Linked DNA regions of Homo sapiens: region 2 is linked to region 1. The links are contacts of gene promoters, found by promoter capture Hi-C in human tissues and cell types (Jung and others, 2019). All regions are on one chromosome and are shown on one strand. The core of a region is centred on a gene start or on the middle of the fragment in contact, and the rest is flanking DNA. Distances in the headings are between cores, read along the strand shown. Region 1 holds the start of CALML6 (calmodulin like 6). Region 2 holds the start of CDK11B (cyclin dependent kinase 11B).

What was found. Contacts are between HindIII fragments. The study calls those that stand out against the background at their distance.
Region 2: a contact is called between the fragment with the promoter of CDK11B here and the fragment with the promoter of CALML6 in region 1, in 2 of the 25 tissues and cell types used here (liver and spleen).

Annotation. Positions count from the first base shown.
Region 1 is chr1:1,913,472-1,917,118 of GRCh38, forward strand. CALML6 (calmodulin like 6) reads left to right here and starts at 1,789. Exons shown (of 6, transcript NM_138705.4): 1 at 1,789-1,836; 2 at 2,214-2,264; 3 at 2,970-3,144; 4 at 3,281-3,425; 5 at 3,503-3,603. The coding sequence starts at 1,810. RefSeq lists an enhancer at 610-1,296. The HindIII fragment of the contact is 17,409 bases long and covers 1-3,647 here.
Region 2 is chr1:1,657,754-1,661,170 of GRCh38, forward strand. CDK11B (cyclin dependent kinase 11B) reads right to left here and starts at 1,251. Exons shown (of 20, transcript NM_033486.3): 1 at 1,161-1,251. RefSeq lists enhancers at 1,094-1,816, 1,248-1,337, 1,358-1,637. The HindIII fragment of the contact is 36,520 bases long and covers 1-3,417 here.

The DNA of each region.
Region 1 (3,647 bases), core at 539-3,038:
GGTTTTTCTCTTTTTCTGTTTTCTTTTCTTTTCTTTTTTTTTTTTGAGATGGAGTCTCGCTCTGTTGCCCAGGCTGGAGTGCAGTGGCGCGATCTCGCCTCACTGCAAGGTCTGCCTCCTGGGTTCACGCCATTCTCCTGCCTCAGCCTCCGGAGAAGCTGGGACTACAGGTGTCTACCACCACGCCTGGCTAATTTTTTTGTATTTTTTTTAGTACAGTCGGGGTTTCACTGTGTTAGCCAGGATGGTCTCGATCTCCTGACCTCGTGATCTGCCCGCCTCAGCCTCCCAAAGTGCTGGGATTACAGGCGTGAGCCACCGTGCCCAGCCTCTTTTTCTGTTTTCTTATGGAGAATAGCCCTTCGGTGATCAGAAGAGACACAAGAAGGAAAATAAAGATTGGATGAGTCTCAGGTCCTAGAGATACGGGGTATGTCCGAAGGCCACACAGAGGCTGGTCAGCATGAGGAGAGAGGGTTAGAGGGCGAGGACCTGTTCTGCTGCTTGTACTGGGTCTTGGATATGGGTAGAAGCCTAGATGGAGAGGAGAGAGGTTGATGGTGGTTGTGGCCATGTTGCCCCTTCCTACGGGCGGGGCGGGGGGTGTGCCCTCTGCTTTAAGTTGGGCTCCAGGGGTCACAGCTTTGAGTTTCACTCGTAAGCCCATCAGGATGTCTGGAACCTTCAGGGCTGTGGCCCAGGAATGTCAGACGCTGGAAGCCTGGGAACGGAGGAGGCAGAGCCTGCTGTCCACTGGCTGTGAGAGTTGTTGGGGTGGGGACTTGTCCAGGGCCACGAGGCCAGTGCAGTTCTCTGTGTCTCTGTACCCAGCTGGCCTGTACCTGGAGACCCTGAGCCAGAACCCAGGATGGGCCCTGGCCTGGGTGCTGCGGCTCCCTCCATTCTATGCCCCTGGGGGAAGGTGCTCAGTGCGTGAATTGTTCCCTGCCCCAGCCCAGGGGAAAGCTGAGGCCAGGGAGCAGCCAGGATGAAGGTCAGGGCCTCCCTTGGCCCCACCAGACCCAGGGCCGCTTCCCTCCAGCCCCGGCTCCCGTTTGGCTGGAGGTGCCCTGGGCCATTGGCCTGCCCTCGTCAGCGTCAATCTTGCAGTCTCAGCAGCTGGCCTGGGTTTCAGCGGGAGCCATCCTGTAGCTGCAGGTTTGCTGGCAGGCAGAGGGTTGGGCTGGCGGGGGACACTGAGTGCCCCACCTGCTCAGACTCTTCATGCCATCAAGGGGCCAGTCGGGGGGCAGGTGTGAGTGTGACCCTGAGGGCCCTGACCTGCCACTGCAATCCTCACACTCTTGCCTGGGTGGGGCAGGGAGGAGCTGGACCCTGGCTTTGGGAGTCTGGTGGGTAATTAGACCCAGACAGGGAGGGCTCAGTGCGGGTCTGAGGAGGGAACACACGTGTGCAGGCGTGTGCTCCACGGTGGCATGTTGATACGGACCAGCCTGGGCACCAGGCCCCCTCGGGAGCCAGCTTTGCTGTTCTGAGTGGAAGGGAGATCAGGTTTCCCTGAGAAACCCCAAAATAGCCCCCAACTGTGCCTGGCTTCCAGCGGGCAGCCCAGCCCCCAGGCCCTGTTTTGCTCCCTTTCCCCCTTCACCCCCAGCCCATGTCCTGCTGTCTCCTCCCTGAATGGTGGACCCTCAGCCCCTCCTGTACAAGATGGTCAAGCGGTGCCTCATGCATTTGTTCATTCGACCTGTCCTGAGAGTTTGTGACATGCTGGCACGGGGCCAATGTTGAGTCCACCAGGATGGGAGGGTGGCCAGGCTCTGAGCCACTGAGCACCAGCTGGCCAGGATGGGTCTTCAACAAGAAATCTCACTGGTAAGTGATGACAGCATGGGACCAGGGTCCCATGAAGACCTGCTGGAGGGCCGCACCTCTGGGAAGGTAGACTTGGAGCTTGGTCCAGTGAAGAGGGAACAGCACGGGGAACAGCGTGTGTGAGGGTCCCGCCATGTCTCAGCCCTTTCCTGGCCCCCGCACTTAGCCTTCGGTGCCCATCTTCAGGGTCAGGGGAAGCCCAGGCCAAAGCGGGCCGGGAAGGGGCCCTGTGGATAAGGCCGAGAGCCTGTCCCAAAATAGGGCCGGCAGGATTTCCCACCCATAAAAGGCTCTTGGAATCTGGACCCCGGGGACCCCAGGCAGCCAGGCCCAGCTAAAACTCAGCTGCCACCACTGCCCCAGCACTCTGCCCACAGCAGCCCTGGTGTCACCACCCTGCAGAATCCTGTCAGACAACCACCGACATGGTAAGGCTGCTCTCTGTGCCCGATGGAGTCTCTGGTGGGCTGGCTGGGTAGGTTGAGCTGGAACCTGGAGGTGCAATGACCTGCCACGGAGCCTGGGCAGGAAGGGGCTGAGGTAGAAGAGGGGGCCAAGCCCTGCTGCCACCAACACAGCCCTTGTTCCGGGGCCAGGGTGGAGCAGCCCTTTCTGAAAGCTGGCTCCCAGATGGGCAGCAGCAGTGGTGGCAGGCAGGTGTGGCCCGGTGCTGGACTCTCCCTCCGGAATGCCACACAGGCTGGAGCCCAGGGTTCTGCTTCCTGGGCTGTATCCCAATCCTGGGCTGGAAGCCTTTCCCGGGCCAGGGCTGGGCTCCTCCCCACCCTGCTCTCGGCTTCCTTCACCTGCCTCACCTGGTGTCCATTGCCAGGCTCCAGGGCCGCTGCCTGGCCCGCCTGGCCCTGCAGCTGCTGCTGTTCCCTCGCACGCTGGCTCCTGCCTGTCTGGCCCTTGCCCCTGTTAGCTGCCTGGCAGAGCCCTGCTGGCCCTGCAAACCCCTGGCGTGTGACCCCTTGTCCTGGAAGCCTGCTCTCCGCTGGGGGCCTCCTCTCTTACCACTCACCTTGAAAGGCTGCCAATGGAGGAATGGGTGCAGGGGGTACCTCTGACCCTTCCCTGGACACAGGGGCAGAAGGGGCTCCTGGTCAGGCCGGTGCGGGTGTCCCCTGCAGACAGAGCGCCTGTCGGCTGAGCAGATCAAGGAGTACAAGGGAGTCTTTGAGATGTTCGACGAAGAGGGCAACGGGGAGGTGAAGACGGGGGAGCTGGAGTGGCTCATGAGCCTGCTGGGTATCAACCCCACCAAGAGTGAGCTGGCCTCAATGGCCAAGGATGTGGACAGAGACAGTGAGCTCATGGCTGGAGTGGGGTGGGCAGCCTCGGGGGGGCCCTGGGTCAGGTGTCAGTGCCTACGGGGGGAAGAGGCAAAGCCCATGGGGAGTGCTGTGCCCCATCCCTTGAGCCCCAGCTGTGCCCCTTGCAGACAAAGGGTTCTTCAACTGCGATGGTTTCCTGGCACTAATGGGAGTTTACCATGAGAAGGCCCAGAACCAGGAGAGCGAGCTGAGGGCGGCATTCCGTGTCTTTGACAAAGAGGGCAAGGGCTACATTGACTGGAACACACTCAAGTAGGGCCCGGGTTGGGGGCGGGTGGTGGGCGGGCACGGGCAGGGCCGATGGAGTGGCTCAGCGCCAGGCCCCGTAGGTACGTGCTAATGAACGCAGGGGAGCCCCTCAACGAGGTGGAGGCGGAGCAGATGATGAAGGAGGCCGACAAGGATGGGGACAGGACCATCGACTATGAGGGTGAGTGGCCTGGAGCCCTGGGAGCCGTTGGCTGGGCCGGGGCA
Region 2 (3,417 bases), core at 1-2,500, 260 kb before region 1:
CCCAGTGTGGTGGCGCGTGCCTGTATTCCTAGCTACAGGAAGGAGGCTGCTAGAGGCAGGAGGATCACTTGAATCAGAGAGGTCAAGGCTGCAATGAGCCAAGACTGCGCCACTGCACTCCAGCCTAGATAACAAAGTAAGACTTGGTTAAAAAAAAAAAAAAAAAAAAAAAAGTAAGCTCTAGGCTGAGGCGGGTGGATCACAAGGTCAGGAGGTCAAGACCAGCCTGGCCAACACGGCGAAAACCCTGTCTCCACTAAAAATACAAAACTTAGCTGGGCGTGGTGGCGGGTGCCTGTAATCCCAGCTACTCGGGAGGCCGAGGCAGCAGAATCGCTTGAATCCGAAAGGCGGAGGTTCCGGTGAGCCGAGGTCGCGTCACTGCACTCCAGCAAGACCCCGTCTCAAAAAAAAAAGAAAAAAAAACAAGAATGATAAGTTGTAAGCCAGGCAAGGTGGCGAGCGCCTGTAGTCCCATATACTCTGCAAGCTGAGATGGGAGACCGATTGAGCCCAGGAGTTCCAGGCTGAAGTGCGCTTGTGAACAGCCACTGCGCTGCAGCATGGGCGACAAAAAAGAGTGATGGGTTCTGAAAAATGACCGCTTGAAATCAAGTCTCGTTTCTGTCATTCTTGTATGGTCTTGGGTAACGTAATTCACCTCAGTTTAGTCTTCCGTACAACCAGAATAACAACACCTACGTGATAGTATCGATCGCGGATTAAAGATCATCCGTTTAAAGGCTCTTAACTCAGGACCTGCCACTCATCAAACACTGCTTTTACTGTCAGAATCTGCTAGAAAGACCGCTTGGACTACGTGAAGCCACTAGCACACTGGACAGCTGCACCTTGAGACCGGGGAGATGCTCCGAGATGTGCTCGCGAACAAGGCCACCTGACCCGGGCACTGGGCTATTTCCTCGGGTTCAGTCCCGCACACTTGAGGTTCAGCCTGGCAGACGTTGGCTCCAGACAGCGTTTGGACCCGCCGCCTCCACCACCCAAAGTTCCGTGCGGGATGAGACTGTCCGCGGAAGCGAGGGTGTCGCTCGCCCCCGGGCCCGGGTCCGCCCCGCTCCGAGGCCTGCTCGGAAGAAAGACCTCGGTGCGCAGTTCTCCTCGCGCTCCCACACCTGGTCCGCCCAGTCGGAACTCACCCCTACGCCGCCGCCGCTGCCGCCGCCGCCGCCGCCGGTCCCGGAGCCAGAGAAGAAACAGCAACCGGCGCGCGCCAAAAGTATCGTCACTTCCTGTATTGGCGCGTAATGATGATATAATAGCCGACCTCCGGCCCAGAACTCGAGACAACGACAGGGGCTCGCTCTGTGCGGCACTTCCTGTGTCTGCGCGGGATGATAACGCATAAAACAGCGCTTGCTCAGGTCCAGGACGCCAGAAGAAACAGCCCGGTGAGCGCACTTCCGACTTCGGCGCGGGCTGTGACGCAGGAATCGGGACTCCGGAGGAGCGACGCCCACTTTTGGAGCAGTTTGCGCCTGCGCGGAACGCGTGGCCGGCTTCCGGAATCCTACCGGGACTTTTCCGGTAGCGAAGCCCGCGCCTGTGCCAAGGCTTGCGAGCAGAATGCCTTCGCGATGGACGCCCGCATTCCACCCCCTTGACCGCTGGGACCCCTAGTGGCGGGTGGGTGGAGCGCGCTCCATTTACCTGCTGGTTACCTCGTGAGGCGCCTCAGGTCTGTGTGTCTTGTAAAGGCCGATCTCGGAATTTAACTCTGAACCTTACTCAGAAACAGGGCAGGGAGAGCTCTTACGATGTGATTTTATTTTATTTATTCATGTATTTACTTTTGAGTCGGAGCCTTGCTCTGCCGCCCAGGTTGGAGTGCAGTGGCGTGGTCTTGGCTCACTGCAGCCTCCTCCCGGGTTCAAGGAATTTTCCTGCCTCAGCCTCCCGAGTAGCTGGAACCACAGGCCCGCGCCACCACGCCCGGCTAATTTTTATATTTTTGGTAGAGACGAGGTTTCGCCATATTGGCCAGGCTGGTCTCGAACTCCTGACCTCAAGTGATCCGCCCGCTTCGTCCTCCTAAAGTGCTGGGATTACAGGCGTGAGCCACCGCGCCCGGCCTTTTACAATGTGATTTTGAAGCTGACACTGGCAGTGGGTCCTCAAAGTGCAGACTCACTGGGTATGGTGCTTCCCCCAACTCCCAGGGCCCCACTCCAAACCCATGGATTCAGAGCATTGCAGGAGAAGAGGATAAAACGAGCAATTAATTCCCTTTCCATATGTCAGGTTTTCCTCTTGACTTGAAAAGTCACAGAAAAATGCTTTAGACATCTGAATCTCAGGAAACAAACAATGGAAGATAAACATCCGCATTTACTGGGCCTGAAATGGGAAAATGAAAGATGTGGCAAGAAACTGACAAGGGCCCAAGAAGGGCGATGGGTATCGGAATTTTTTTCATCCCGGAATGAAATGCTGCTTGCTTTGTGTACCCAAGCTCTTTTTTTATTTTTATTTTTTTGAGACGGAGTCTCGCTCTGTTGCCCAGGCTGGAGTGCAGTGGCGCGATCTCGGGTCACTGGAAGCTCCGCCACCCGGGTTCACGCCATTCTCCCGCCTCCACTCCATTCGCCCGCATTAGGCTCCTGAGTACCTGTGACTACAGGCGCCTGCCACCATGCCCGGCTAATTTTTTTTTTATTTTGGGTAGAGACGGGGTTTTACCGTGTTAGCCAGGATGGTCTCAATCTCCTGACCTCGTGATCAGCCTGCCTCTGCCTCCCAAAGTGCTGGGATTACAGGCGTGAGCCACCGCGCCTGGCCTCCCCCAAGCTCTTAATGTTGCTTCCTGAGTTCTTGGTAACTGGGGAAATCTCCCTATTTTTTTATTTTTATTTTTTTTTGAGACGGAGTCTTGCTCTGTCGCCCAGGCTGGAGTGCAGTGGCGCAATCTCGGCTCACTGCAAGCCCCACCTCCCGGGTTCAACGCCATTATCCTGCGAGCCTCAGCCTCCCGAGTAGCTGGGACTACAGGCGTCCACCACTACGCCCGGCTAATTTTTTTGTGTTTTTAGTTGAGATGGGGTTTCACTGTATTAGCCAGGATGGTCTTGATCTCATGACCTTGTGATCTGCCTGCCTTGGCCTCCCAAAGGGTTGGGATTACAGGCGTGAGCCACAGCACGTTTTTTTCTGTTTTGAGAAAAAGTCTCGCTGTGTCACCCAGGCTGGAGTGCAGTGGCACAATTTTGGGTAACTGCAGCCTCCGCCTCCTGGGTACAAGTGATTCTCCTGCCTCAGCCTCCCGAGTAGCTGGGATTATAGGCGTGCGCCACCACACCTGGCTAACTTTTGTATTTTTAGTAGCGACAGGATTTTGCCATGTTGGCCAGGCTGGTCTTGAACTCCTGACCTAAAGTATCTGCCCACCAGCCTCCCACA